Regions from separate parts of the Homo sapiens genome. Here all the other regions are linked to region 4. Evidence: promoter capture Hi-C in 16 types of primary human blood cells and fetal thymus (Javierre and others, 2016). All regions are on one chromosome and are shown on one strand. The core of a region is centred on a gene start or on the middle of the fragment in contact, and the rest is flanking DNA. Distances in the headings are between cores, read along the strand shown.

The links. The method cuts DNA at HindIII sites, captures the fragments that hold promoters and counts their contacts. A CHiCAGO score of 5 or more calls a contact.
Region 1: a contact is called between a fragment that was not itself captured here and the fragment with the promoter of KCNK9 in region 4, in 2 of 17 cell types (megakaryocytes and endothelial precursors). The highest score is 7.6, in megakaryocytes.
Region 2: a contact is called between a fragment that was not itself captured here and the fragment with the promoter of KCNK9 in region 4, in 3 of 17 cell types (megakaryocytes, endothelial precursors and M0 macrophages). The highest score is 6.8, in megakaryocytes.
Region 3: a fragment that was not itself captured here is called in contact with the fragment with the promoter of KCNK9 in region 4 in 1 of 17 cell types (M2 macrophages); the score reaches 5.4 in M2 macrophages.
Region 5: a fragment that was not itself captured here is called in contact with the fragment with the promoter of KCNK9 in region 4 in 2 of 17 cell types (M2 macrophages and megakaryocytes); the score reaches 5.4 in M2 macrophages.

Annotation. Positions count from the first base shown.
Region 1 is chr8:140,111,988-140,114,687 of GRCh38, forward strand. The region is part of intron 17 of TRAPPC9 (trafficking protein particle complex subunit 9); the gene reads right to left. Among named protein-coding and RNA genes, the nearest start is that of PEG13, 13 kb to the left of the region's middle. The HindIII fragment of the contact is 2,384 bases long and covers 123-2,506 here.
Region 2 is chr8:140,131,308-140,134,007 of GRCh38, forward strand. All of the region lies in intron 17 of TRAPPC9 (trafficking protein particle complex subunit 9), which reads right to left. Among named protein-coding and RNA genes, the nearest start is that of PEG13, 32 kb to the left of the region's middle. The HindIII fragment of the contact is 1,622 bases long and covers 551-2,172 here.
Region 3 is chr8:140,077,816-140,080,515 of GRCh38, forward strand. All of the region lies in intron 17 of TRAPPC9 (trafficking protein particle complex subunit 9), which reads right to left. Among named protein-coding and RNA genes, the nearest start is that of PEG13, 21 kb to the right of the region's middle. The HindIII fragment of the contact is 3,620 bases long and covers 1-2,700 here.
Region 4 is chr8:139,701,735-139,704,434 of GRCh38, forward strand. It overlaps KCNK9 (potassium two pore domain channel subfamily K member 9), which reads right to left and starts at 1,389. Exons shown (of 2, transcript NM_001282534.2): 1 at 976-1,389. The coding sequence starts at 1,258. RefSeq lists a silencer at 1,112-1,406. The HindIII fragment of the contact is 15,596 bases long and covers 1-2,700 here.
Region 5 is chr8:140,192,767-140,195,466 of GRCh38, forward strand. The region is part of intron 17 of TRAPPC9 (trafficking protein particle complex subunit 9); the gene reads right to left. Among named protein-coding and RNA genes, the nearest start is that of PEG13, 94 kb to the left of the region's middle. The HindIII fragment of the contact is 1,068 bases long and covers 880-1,947 here.

The DNA.
Region 1 (2,700 bases), core at 65-2,564, 410 kb after region 4:
TGTTTCATAAAATATTCACAGCTTTCTCCAGAAAAGAACATCTTTGGGTAGCCCTTCTCCTTCATCAACTTGGCCACTTTCATAAACAGAGGAGGAATAATAATACTGACATGTCAACGGGAAGCTTTGGCTCGCCTTGCCTTGGGCACGAGGAGAGTAATGGAGAATTCCAGACGATGGTGCGACAGGTGCAAGGAGAGTAATGGAGAATTCCAGACGATGGTGGGACAGGTGGGAGGAGAGTAATGGAGAATTCCAGACGATGGTGGGACAGGTGCGAGGAGAGTAATGGAGAATTCCAGATGATGGTGGGACAGGTGCGAGGAGAGTAATGAAGAATTCCAGACGATGGTGGGACAGGTGCGAGGAGAGGAATGGAGAATTCCAGACGATGGTGGGACAGGTGTGAGGAGAGTAATGGAGAATTCCAGACGATGGTGGGACAGGTGCGAGGAGAGTAATGGAGAATTCCAGACGATGGTGGACAGGTGTGAGAAGAGTAATGGAGAATTCCAGATAATGTCAGAGCTCCCGACCAGTAAGCCTCCATTTCATGTCAGGCACCAGGCTGGACGCTGGAGATGCATGATTTTTCATCCTCTCAAGAGATCTATGAACTGTCCCCATCTTTACAGAAGAAACTGCAGGTCAGAGCCGGTGGGTTCGTCATTATCTCCTAGTCTCATAACATCCTGTCAGATAGAATGGCCACATTCACAGGTGGAGACATTCTGCTTAGAGGCCCCTTTTAATAGGTGGCCTTGCAGATCATGAGCTGCAATTCAAACCCAGGTCTGTCTGGTTTGGGTTTGCATCATGCTATATCCTAGACATATCACTATTTTTTAATTTCCTTTTTTTTTTTTTTTTTGAAATGGAGTCTCGCTCTGTCACCCAGTCTGAAGTGCAGTGGCGCAAACTCAGGTCACTGCAACCTCCGCCTCCTGGTTCAAGGGATTCTCCTACCTCAGCCTCCTGAGTAGCTGGGACTACAGGCATGAGCCACTGCAGCCAGCCTAAATTCCTCTTTTCTTGACATCAAAAAAAAATTCTTCCACATAATTTTTCCTTTGCTTACTTATATATGAGAGAGCAGTTGGGAATTTCAGGGGTTGGAAATATGTCTAGTATTATGTGGGGAGCAGAGAGATTGGTGAAGAAAGTAAAGAGCACAGGCCCAGCAGTGACTTATGTCCTGTGAAGTTTCGACAAATAGAACATAGTCCCCTGGACAGAGGGTGCTTCATTTCAGGGAGATTGACACAAGCAGCGCCATCCCAGGCAGCATGTGCTGCATCATGGGGAGGCTGAAGCCCGCTCTCAAACTCATAGCGGCAGGGACGGTATTTCCAGCAGGACCATCAGGAAAGTGTCCAGAAGCAGGCAGCACACAGAAGGTGGGCCTTTGAGAATGAAATGACACAGATGTTTGCCATCACTTACCATGGCAGGATGAACTGTTTTAAAACAGCAAAAATGTCGGGTGGTGATTTCTATGTCAAGGATGGGGAGAGAGACCACCCTTTCCCGGCTTCAGGGTTGCAGGAGCAGGCACCTGCCTGGCCACTCACTGCTCAGAGGGAGTCCTGGGCGTGGAGAAGTCAGGGAGGAGACGCCAGGCAGACTCAGCGGGGACCCTCCACTGTGAACCTGGGCTCTGCCTGTCCGTAGGAAGCAACTTCCACTTCCTACGCCCCAAGTCACAAAGAGGCAGGTTCCTCAAGTTTTGGGGGATAAGTTCAAGTCCAGGGAGTCTCCGCAAGCCCATGTGAGTAGAACTGATCCACCGAATTCTTCACTGCCAACTTGATGACTGGTGCACATACAGTTTTCACCTCCCAACCTTTAATTGGCCCTCAACTCAAAAGACCCTCTACATGTCCACATTAGAGTCCCTGACACAATCAAAGCCTGTGAAGCTGCACCCACGCTTCCCACTCGATCGGAAAGTCAGGCCTGCTCATCTGCGGAACTTCTGGCTCATTTATGTAAGAGCTGCCTCGAAGTCTCTGATCAGAATTGACTGCTTCCATAATCCCTCCCTAAGCCCTTCCTTTGAGTGAGGTGGCCTCTTGCATACTTCAACAGCACCCAGTATGCACCTCCAGTAGCATAGCTGGTAGCTGGTCTGAGTTCCTCACAAAACTCACTCTGCTTCCGAGCGGGGACTGTTATTCCTGTTTCCAATCCCCTCACCTAAACTAACACCTCCAGGTCAGAAGGCTGTCCTTACATTTGAGGAGTAAATGGAACACCACCCCCAGGCCATATATCCAGCGAGTCAGTCAACAATGAATGTCTCTATGTGCCTAGTGATGGGTTCATAAGGACGAAAAGGACTGAAGAAAAAAAAAAAAAAAAAAACCTCACAAAAGAAAATATTCCTAACAGCAACTGCTGACGTTGCAAAAGACACATGGTACTTTAGGCCCATGTAGTCCAAAGTAGAAATCTGATATCATAATGTCATTAATTTGACTGTTCTCTTCGACAAAAATTTGAATTAAGCTTGATCAGAAAGATGACATTAATGTAGCCATCCTTGGCACCTGATGGTAAAATCTTTAATCCCAGCACAGGAAGGTATCATAATAGGACCATCCGTCACCGATGCAATCATTTGATAATTGCTTTTAGGCCCTGGGTCCTTACATCCAAGACTTAAAGACAAAGAAGGAGGAAAGAGGTGAAGTGCCTGTG
Region 2 (2,700 bases), core at 112-2,611, 430 kb after region 4:
TGCAGAAACATTACACTAAACTATACTACACAACTGTATTGAGAGTATCTGCTAAAAAGTGCTTTGAATTTTAACACGATCACCATCTGTCCAGTGTTAGCTGCTTATAAGGCTTTCTCATAGACATAGTTCATCTGGCCCCTGCAACAGCCCCCTGAGGAAGAAAAGAGATGAGCACGAACCTCCAACTACATCCAGAGAATGCCAGGCTCAGAGGCTCAGTGATGCGCCAGGCCTCCTGGCTGCCAAGGGGTGCGGCTCTGTGGTGGAAACTGCACACCGCTTCTCCTAGACGGCCCCGTCCTAGACAACCCTGCCACCGAAAAATGAAGCACTGACTTTTTCTCCCCTCAGGGTTCAAACCCAAGACCTGTTCTTTCACAAAGAACCTTGAGGGAACAAAGGCTTGAGGGCGAGTCGCCTGGTGGTCCTCTCCATCCAGACAATCCAGGGCTCCCAGACAACTCCTCACTCACACACATTCAGTAACATCTCACCGACTTCAAGGTTTAGCAAAAAGTCCACCAAAGCTCTTCCTAATCTGGCCTAAAGCTTACAGTTGGCTCCAGCCTCACATCCTAGAAGGGTTTGGAGTCAGCCCTCTTCCCAGGGGACCGAGGGGACCGCTGTCCCTGCACCTTACTGGATGCAGCATGAACTTTCACAGTCGGCCCCCCAATGAGGACATCTCTCACCCCTTCAGCCACAGAATTCCAGCTTGCCCTGAAGGCCACGTAGTCCCTGCTCTCCGGATCCTCCCTGGTCACACCTCTGCTGTCACCTTCCATGCTATGCCAAGACAGCCATCCCCAATCAAGACCCTGTTGCCTGGAAACTAAATAGGGGTAGTGACTGATGGGGACTTTCTCATCTCTGCACCCAGGGTCCAGCACAGCACAGTCCTCCGTCCAAAGGCTGCAGAAGTTGGTGCCTCCAAAACAACGTGCTCCTTGGACTTTCCCTTTGTAAGAAGTGTTTATACTCAGAAGAGGAAAAGGCCATTAAAAAGGGGCCGAAACCACGTAAGACTTCATTTCTAATCTTGACACCCACGGGTCTTTTTATTTGCCAGAGGCGTTTGTAAAACAGCATGATTTTCTCTCATATTATTTTATTATCACCCAAACCTCAGCCTCAGTAGATTGCCATCATCTTCCCTGTTTCCACTGTGAGTCACTGAGAAATGAGATTAGGGCTTTACTTTCACCACTGCAGCTTCACTCCATCAAGCCCACCAACGCAGAGCTTGACACAAACACAGAACAAACAGCAGTCCCCACGCAGACGGCGGGGCCTCCTAATCCCTCCAACAAGCACTCACCAAGTGAACCGAAAAGACCTTAGCCCTGGAGACCTCGGTCTAGTGGGCAAGAGAGATAGGACACAAGACAATGACAAGACGCTGATGAGGACAGGGTCATGCAGAATGCCTGGGAAAGGTGCAAGTGGGAGGCTCAGAATAACCTTCCAAGAGGAGGCCAAGTCGGAGGAGGAGGAGGAGGAAACAGGAAAGGGGAGAAATCCTTGATGGTGGACACAGCAGCAAGTGCTAAGGCTTGGCAGCACGCAAGAGAGGCCATGGGCACCCAAGGAACTACAAGTGGGATGGGTCATCTGAAACCTCCCTACCAGGAAGTCAAGGACTAGATGGCTTCACTAGAAAATCTGACCCAACATTTAAAGAATTAAAACCAAACCTTGTTAAACTCTCAAAAAATATAAGAGGAAGGAATGCTTCTAAACACATTCTGTAAGGCCAGCAGCATCACCCTGAAACAAGATCAAGCCAAAGACATCAGAAGAAAAGAGGAAAGCTACCAGTCTTCCTGATGGATACCGATGCAAAACCCTCAATAAAATACTAGGAAGCCAAACTGAACAGTAAACTAAAAGGACTATGTACCATGACCAAGGGGGATTTATTCCTAGAACGTAAGGATAGTTCAACATTTTTTAAAAATCAATGTGATGTACCATATTAATATAATGGAAAAGATCCACATGATCATCTCTCCTGATGCAGGAAAAATATTGACAAAATTCAACATCCTTTCACGATAAAACATAAAAATCCAACCAGCAAAACAGAAACAGAAGGGAACTCCTCAACATGATAAAGGGTATCTATGAAAAACCCACAGCTAACATCATACTCAACAGAGAAAGACTGAAAGCTTCCCCTAAGATCAGGAACAGGACAGCATGCCTGCTTTCCCCACTGCTATTCAATCCCGAATCAGAGTCTTCCTCAGAGCAATTAAACAACAAAAAGAAATAAAAGGCATCCAAATTAGAAAGGAAGAAGTAAAACTCTCTGTATTCACAGGTGACATGAGCCTACATTAGAAAATCTCAAAGAACACACAAGAAAGCTACTAGAGCTAATAAATTCAGGTAAGTTGCAAGATACAAATTCAGCACACAAAAATCTGTTGTATTTCTACACACCAGCAATGAATAATCTGAAAAGAAAATTTAGAAAGCAATTCCATTTAAAATAGTATATGGAATAATACCTAGGAATAAATTTAACCAAAGAGGTAAAAGACTTGTACACTACAAATTACAAAACATTGCTTGAAAAAAAAAAGGATGACCTAAATAAATGGCAGACATCCCACGTTCATGGATACTAGATTTATTATTGTTAAGATGCCAATACTACCCAAAACAAAGATTCAACTCAATCCCTTTCAAAAT
Region 3 (2,700 bases), core at 5-2,504, 380 kb after region 4:
AAGCTGCAGGACCGCAGGGCCAGAACAAGAGAAACCTGGGAGAGGAGATGGAAAAGGCTGCGTGGCCCCAGATAGAAAAGTCCAGCATGGACAATCGTGATGTTTCTTATGGAAAAACATGACTTTCCTCAGAAAATGGAGAACTTTATCCTGCATTTGTCATGGAGATAAAATAATTAGATACAAAGTGTGAAAAACCAGTAACACTAGTAGAAACACTGCAAGGCAAACTGTCTTCAAAGCATGCAGTTCATCTCCATTTAACTGGAAATTACTGTGAAAGAAAGAAAAACTGTCCCAGAATCAGCTTCCAGACAAGAAAGAACCTGTTCCAAACCATCTCTTCATGCTTTTCTCTGCGTTCAAATTGCAAAAATACAAAGTTGTATAGAATTTTGGAAGAACTTTTCAGAGAACATTTCATTTTAACAAAAGGCAAGGAGAAAACTGCAAAAGTGCTTGTGGTTTTATAGCAGTGCCATGGGAAGACACTGCTGTTATGCTGAGAGAAGGTAAGTCACGCAGGAGTGGCTGGACTCAAGTTCAAGCCCAGGCTTTTCAGCACTCTTTGATCCCACCAAAATCTTGGCCTCAGGCAGGGAGGGTGGAGTGGCAACTGCACTGGATGGAGGCTTAGTGAGGTACATGGCTGAACACGGGGGAGGGCTTCCAGATATGGGACAGAAGGCCAGAGGTGGGATGGGGCAGGGATGAATGGATGGAAAAGAGCTTCCTAGGTGGGGAAAGGAAATTATTCTAGGAACTGAAGGCAGTATGGGCAAAAACATGAATCACAAGGACAAAGAGGGGTCTGATAGAGGAACTGCACCCACTTTAAGAAGAGGCAGCTCAGGGTTGAGAATGTGTCATCTTCTGAGGAGCCCATGCAGGAACTGAGAGGATGTCACATGCAGGTACACAGGAGCCACAGTCCCAAACTCAGAGGTCTGCACTCTAACACCAGGTCAGCCACCTCCCCTCCCTGCCCCCAGTCACCACCAGTCAACAGGGGGCCTACCCAGCAATGGCTCAAGGCTTTTCAACTCTGACATTCCTAAAGCTGGATGGATCCTATCATCTCTCCAGCAACTGTACAGCTTTCCAGTGATATGGTTTGGCTGTGTCCCCACCCAAATCTTATCTTGAATTGTAGCTCCCATAATTCCCATGGGAATTATGTCATGGGAGGGACCCAGTGGGAGGTAACTGAATCATAGGGGTGGGTATTTCCAATGCTGTTTTCGTGATGGTGAATAAGTCTCACGAGATCTGATGGTTTTATAAAGGACTGTTCCCCTGCACATGCTCTCTTGCCTGCTGCCATGTAAGACGTGACTTTGTTCCTCATTCACCTTCTGCCATGATTATGAAGTCTCCCCAGCAATGTGGAACTGTGAGTCCATTAAACCTCTTTCCTTTATAAATTACTCAGTCTCGGGTATGTCTTTATTAGCAGAGTGAGAACAGACTAATACAGATGGCCAGAAGCAACAAAGAATCTGAGAAGAGTTCAGACTTTGAATGGGTGACACTTAGTTCACTCTTGGTTCTGCTCCTTTAACAGGTGTTTGAATTTGGCAAGTTCCTTAACTTGATGAGGCCCCAGAGAAGTAAGATAACACTCCCCTGGAAAGTGCCTCCAGGACCAGAGAGGCCACAAGCAGCGGCTCCAGCAGAAAAGAGGCACCTGCAGAAGGGCAGTGAAGTTTGTTCATATTTATTACAAGTGCTCTCCCTACACCCAAGGACCTGGACTATTGTTCTCCCCACTTTATAACTACAGTGGCACACTGGCAACAAAAACGTCTAATTGTGCATAATAATAAAAAGGCAGGCCAGGCATGGTGGCTCATGCCTGCAATCCCAGCACTTTGGGAGGCCAAGAGGGCGGATTGCTTGAGGTCAGGAGTTTGAGACCAGCCTGCCCAACGTGGCAAAACTCCATTTCTACTAAAAATACAAAAATTGGCCAAGCGTGGTGGTAGATGCCTGTAATCCCAGCTACTCAGGAGGCTGAGCCAGGAGAATCGCTTGAACCTGGGAAGTGGAGGTTGCAGTGAGCCAAGATTGCACCACTGCACTCCAGCCTGGGCGAGAGAGCACAATTCTGTCTCAAAATAATAATAATAATGATAATAATAAAAATGAAGAAGAAGGAGGAGGAGGAGGAGGGGAAGAAGAAGGCGATGGCATCACTTTCCCCTGGTCAGATGTTATTTCAGCTCAAAGTTTGCTTTAAGAAATGACACCTTGGAATTAACCCTGTTTCATCAAAAGGCCAAGATTCCCAAGAAGAGATGTTGAATGATCCAGGGGAATCAAGTACATACAAGGTCATAGAAGGCACATACATGGTCAGTGATGAACATTCCATATCATGTGTGGGTCTGTAATAGTTCTCCCTGTAACTTAACACTCAGCACTGTGGAAATTGAGAACCACATGAGTAAACTTTCTTTCACTTGTGATGCACAACAGCTAACAGTACAAAACACCACGCCACACTCATTCTTGTCTTAGTCCATTTGGTGTTGCTGCAACAGAATACCTGAGTGTGGGTAATGCGTAAAGAAAAGAGGTTTATTTTGCTATGATTCTGGTAGCTGGAATGTCCACAAGCATGGCACTGGCATCTGTTCGGCTTCTGGTGAGGGCCATGGGCTGCGTCAAGATGTAGCAGACAAGAAGAAACACCAGAGG
Region 4 (2,700 bases), core at 139-2,638:
ACGTCCACCCGAATGAAGGTACCTGCCCCAGCTCCCACAGGTCTCCAAGTATAACGTCCGGGAGTCCTCCCAGCCCCCAGCCTTAGAGGGGACACTGCCCTCGGGACCGACCAGAGACCCTGCTCTGTGAATAGCGCCCTTGGCAGTGGGGCTGGCGGGCATCCCTGCAGTTTACCAGCTGGACCCCCTCTCGTGACTGGGGCTCAAGTTCCCTGGTTTCTGGGCAATGTCTAGACTGGCCTTTCCCAGTGTCACAGCCTAGGGAGTGGGCAGGTTCTGCCCTGCCCCCACTCTCCACCTCTACTGAGAGCAATTGAGGGGCTGCCACCCCCAACGCAAGCACCAGAGAGCAAACTCTCTCCTCCCAGGGGCCTGGGAAGTCCAAGCTCCAGAACTGGAACTCAGGGGAAAAAAGGAGCCGGGCGGGGGGAAGAGAGATGAAATCTGAGCTCAGAGAAGCCTGGAGCGGGGCCCAGGGGCTACGGAGGGTCAGTGCCTCTCACGCCCCAGGCGCACTCCCCTGCCACCTGAGTCCCTCTAGGAGCCATGGGTGCCAGGCCAGCCCTCTCCAACTCCCAGAGAGGTAGTAAGTGTAAGGCTCAGAGCCCCGCGCAGCCCAGCCCGCGCCGGGGCGGTGGGTGGGTGGGTGTCTGCTATGGGATTATTCTTAGCGCTCCACTCTCTTCGCAAAAGTGGCGCCTCCGCCCTCCCGGCTCAGGCACACTCGCTCGGGGCTCGCACGCCCGGCCCAGACACCAGCGCGGTGGAGAGCACCGGGTGGGGTCCCCGAAGGGTGAGGCTCGGAGGCGCCGCGGAGGGGGGGCTCCCTAGAGAGGAGGGGGCGCTGCGGGAAGGCCCCCAAGGGAGGCTGCGTTTAACCCTCGACGCCCTGCACCCAGCCCGGCGCGGCGCGCTCAGCCGCCTCCCCGGACTCCTCCCGGGGCGCGGGAGCCCAGCGGCGCGCCCAGCCCTTACCTATGGTGGTGATGACCGTGATCGCAAAGTAGAAGGAGCCGGCGAATTTCCACTGGACGCCGGCGCGGTGCGGTTCCGACTGCAGGATCACCAGCTCCAGCTGCCGGTAGTCCTCGCTGCTGATGTTGTACTTCCCCTTGATCCGGATCTCCTCGGCTTTGAGTTTCTCCTCCTCGCGCATCTCGTGGTCCGACTCGAGGGCGTCGAACACGGCGGCGCCCACCAGCAGGTAGGTGAAGGTGCAGACGATGAGGGACAGAGTCCGCACGTTCTGCCTCTTCATGGCCGCCAGCAAGGAGCCGGCGCGGGGGGCATGTCCCGCAGGCTCACAGCCGCGCGCGTCCCACTGCAGCGCCCGGCGGCCGCCGCCGCCTCCTCCTCCGCCGCCGCCGCCGCCGCCTCCAAGTTGTAAGCGGCGGCGGCAGCAGCAGCAGCAGCAGCGGGGAGGCGGGGGGCGGGGAGGCTGGGGGGGGCCCCCTCCGCTGGGGCCGCCACAGCCACCGCCACCGCGAGGCGGCTGGCGGGGCAGGGGCGGCGCGGGCCCGGGCTCAGCCGAGAAGGCGGACAGGCACAGGAGGCTGCTCGAGCGCCGGGGCCAGGCGTCCGGGAACCCCGACACCCTGCGCCAGACCCGGCCGAAGCAGCCCGCCCCACTGCGCAGGGCCATGCAGGGCGGCCCCGCTGGGTACCGCGCGGGCCTTGCTGCCCTCCGCACCCCGCCCCCCGCTCCCGCGGGAAACGCAGGGACGGGAACCGGAGCCAGAAAGCGGCCGGAGGGCGGCCGCGGGGCCCGGTACCCCTGTGGGTCCAGCTCGCGGGTGGCGGTGCCCAGCAAGGAGCCTGCAGGTCCGCGCGCCCAGCGGAACCTGCTTCCCCTTTTACCCCTCCTCGCCCCCTCTCGGTGGTGGGGAGGAAAAGTTTGCGAAGTGGCGGTGTCTCTGGAGTCCCCTGCAAGCGGGGAGGGGGCCGAGCAGGTGCAGCGGGAGGGGCAGCCCGCTCCCCAAAGGTCCGCGCGCCCAGCGCCCACCCGGGCGCGCGGGTGCGCAGCGGGGTCCCCGCCGGGCGTCGGCCGGTGCGCGAAGTTTGCTCGGCTCAACCCCCAAGGCGCGGGAGCGGGGCGCGGCCCCAGGACGGCAGGGACCGCGATGGAGCGGCTTCGGGGGCGGCCGGGGGACGGCGCGGTGGCGGTCGGCCAGCCCGCTCCTCCGGGGGCGGCGGGCGCGGCGGCGGCGGCGGGAGGGGTCCCGCGGGCCTCGCGGAGCAGCGGGGCGGACGCGGGCGCATGAGCCGCGCGGGGGTCGGGGCCCTCCGGCGTCCGGGCGTCCCGGGAGGCGGCCGCCGCGCTGGTCTGCCCCGGGCGCTACGTGCGTGCGCGCCGTTGGGAGCCCGAATGTGTGTGTGCGCGTGTGTATGTGCGTGTGTGTGTGTGTGTGTGTGTGCGCTTGGCAGCCCCGCTCCGGCGGGAGGGCCTCGGGGAGCGGGGGCCGGGCTACGCCGAGGCCGGGCCTCCCTCCCTCCCTCCCTCCCGCAGCCTCCAGGGCGCGCCACCTCCCGCCTGGTCCCCAGCCAGCTGGCGAGGCTGCTGTGGCAGCTCCCGCTGCAGACCCAGCGCGGCGCAGGGCGCACGCGGAGGGAGCCCGGGAGGGGCGGCCTGAGCCGCCAGGGAGGGGGCGGGGGCGGAGCCGCCGGCGGGTTTTGGCGGGGGATGGGAGGATAAACGCGGCT
Region 5 (2,700 bases), core at 164-2,663, 490 kb after region 4:
CTGTTTGTTTATTTAGTTATTTATTTTTTGAGATGGAGTCTCCCTCTGTGGCCTAGGCTAGAGTGCAGTGGCACAATCTTGGCTCACTGCAACCTCCACCTCCCAGGTACAAATGATTCTCCTGCCTCAGCCTCCTGAGTAGTTGGGATTACAGGCATCCACCATCACACCCGGCTAATTTTTGTATTTTGAGTGGAGATAGGGTTTCACCATGTTGGTCAGGCTGGTCTCCTGACCTCAAGTGATCCGCCCGCCTCGGCCTCCTAAAGTGCTGGGATTACAGATGTGAGCCACCATGCCCAGCTGAATGGCTGTTTAAATCTTGCAGAAGTAAAACAAGTATTTCACTGGGGAAAGACAGGTTTCAAACACCTCTGCCACATATACCTTCATTCCAGAGTTGCTTGGAGGAAATTTTCTAAATAATCTTTCAAATCCCTGGCTCATCAATCTAAAATGTGAAAATGTGTTCTGAAGTGCTTTTCTACTGGAGATATTGGCTATTTCCCCCACGGGAATAAATTTAAATTACACACTTAGAACTAAGGCCTAGATTCTTGCAGATCTAAGCTTTAAAATCATGAACACGAATTTCACCCAAACTGAGTGACCTGCCTTCAGAATAGGGAGAAGCTTCATGTTGTAGGCATTGCAAAGCCTAGCTTCTTACCTGAGTCAGCTGAATGTAAGTCTTGGATATAAATCTTCAAAGTTGAGCTGAAAACATATACTAGCACAAACTGTCCATTTTTTATATCACTGGCAAGTTTAAGAAGTTCAGATTTGAGCCAGAAGGAAAGAAATGACACTCTCCCACAAAGTTCCATAAGGGCAGAAGGGATCTTTGTACTTTCAGAAAAAAAAAAAAAAAAAAAAAAAAGCTTGGTTGGTAATTGTGCCTACTGCTAGAAAGTCCACTGGAAAGGCTGAAACCAGTCCACAGGAGGCCCGCTGTGCTAATGGGAAGAGCATGCACTTTGAGGTCAGGTGACCAAGGCCACCTCCAAGCTGTGCGATTGTGGACAAACTATCGCTGCAAATGAAGACTGTAATACCTATCTTTCAGGGCTGGTCTGAGAATGACTAGCAATGCATGCAAAGCACTCAGCACAGTGCCCAACGCAAAGAAGGCTCCCAGTATGTAGAAGCTAACACATTTTGTCATTTTGCACAAGGCAACATTCTGGGAAAAGTCCAAAAAGCAGATTCAGAAAACACAGGGTCCAGTCCCAGCTCCAGTGCTTCCTTGGAGCCACAAATTCTAATCCCGGTTTTAATCCATCATTGTAACCCTAGCGCTCCCAGGGTTGAACTCTCTGAAAATTAATTCCATCCAGACATTCTACTGCTTAAAACCCCCAGGACCACCCATTTAAAATCTAAACTCCTTAGTATGGCAAAGGCCCCTGTCTATCTTTTCCGCCTCTACATTCACTGTCCTCCTTTCTCTGCCTTCCTAACTCCTCCTATCCAGTCTCTCCCCAGCCCGCACCCCTTCACACCCCACCCACAGTCATCCCCCTCCCTCAGTATGATCTCTCTTGGATACCAAAACTGCTCAAGTCCCTGATATAAAATAGCACATCTGTATATAACCCATGCACATCCTTCTGTATAACTTACTCTCTAGATTTATTATACCTAATAAAATGTAAATGCTATGTAAATAGTTATATTGTATTATTTAGGAACTAATGATAGGAAAAATGTCTGTACATGTTCAGTACAGATGCAGTTTTTTTGCTTGAATACTTTCAATCCAAGGTCGGTTGAATCCACAGCTGTGGAACCCACATGGACACAGAGGCCAACTGTAACTGAGGCTCCTGAAATACACTAGGCACATTCTGTGCCTGGACCTAGGGCACTCGCTGACTGGAAGGTCCCAAAGGAACCTCAATACCTACTCATCTTTCAATACCCAGCTCTGGTATCAACTGTCTTTGAAGCTTTAAAATCCCTATGAGCATTTGTATGCCTACACTTACACACCCCTGACCATGTATTCTTCACAGATCACACCTGTGACACTAAAACACACTCAACAACCTATCGTACAGCTCACACCTCTGACCACTAAAACACACTCAAAGACCCACCATACAGATCGCACCTGTGACACTAAAACATAGTCAATGATCCACTATACAGCTCACACCTGTGACACTAAAACACATTCAACGATCCACTGTACAGATCACACCTGTGACACTAAAACACACTCAAGGTTCTACTGTACAGATCACACCTGTGACACTAAAAGACACTCAATGATCCACTGTACAGATCACGCCTGTGACACTAAAACACACTCAAGGATCCACCATACAGATCATACCTGTGAAACTAAAACACACTCAACGATCCACTGTACAGATCACACCTGTGACACTAAAACACACTCAAGGATCCACCGAACAGATCATACCTGTGAAACTAAAACACACTCAATGATCCACCGTACAGATAACACCTGTGACACTAAAACACACAACGATCCATCATACAGATCACACCTGTGACACCAAAACACACTCAACGATCCATCGTACAGATCACACCTGTAACACTAAAACACACTCAATGATCCACTGTACAGATCACACCTGTGATACTAAAACACTCAATGATCCATTGTACAGATCGCATCTGTGACACTAAAAAACACTCGACAATCCACCGTACAGCTCGCACCTGTGA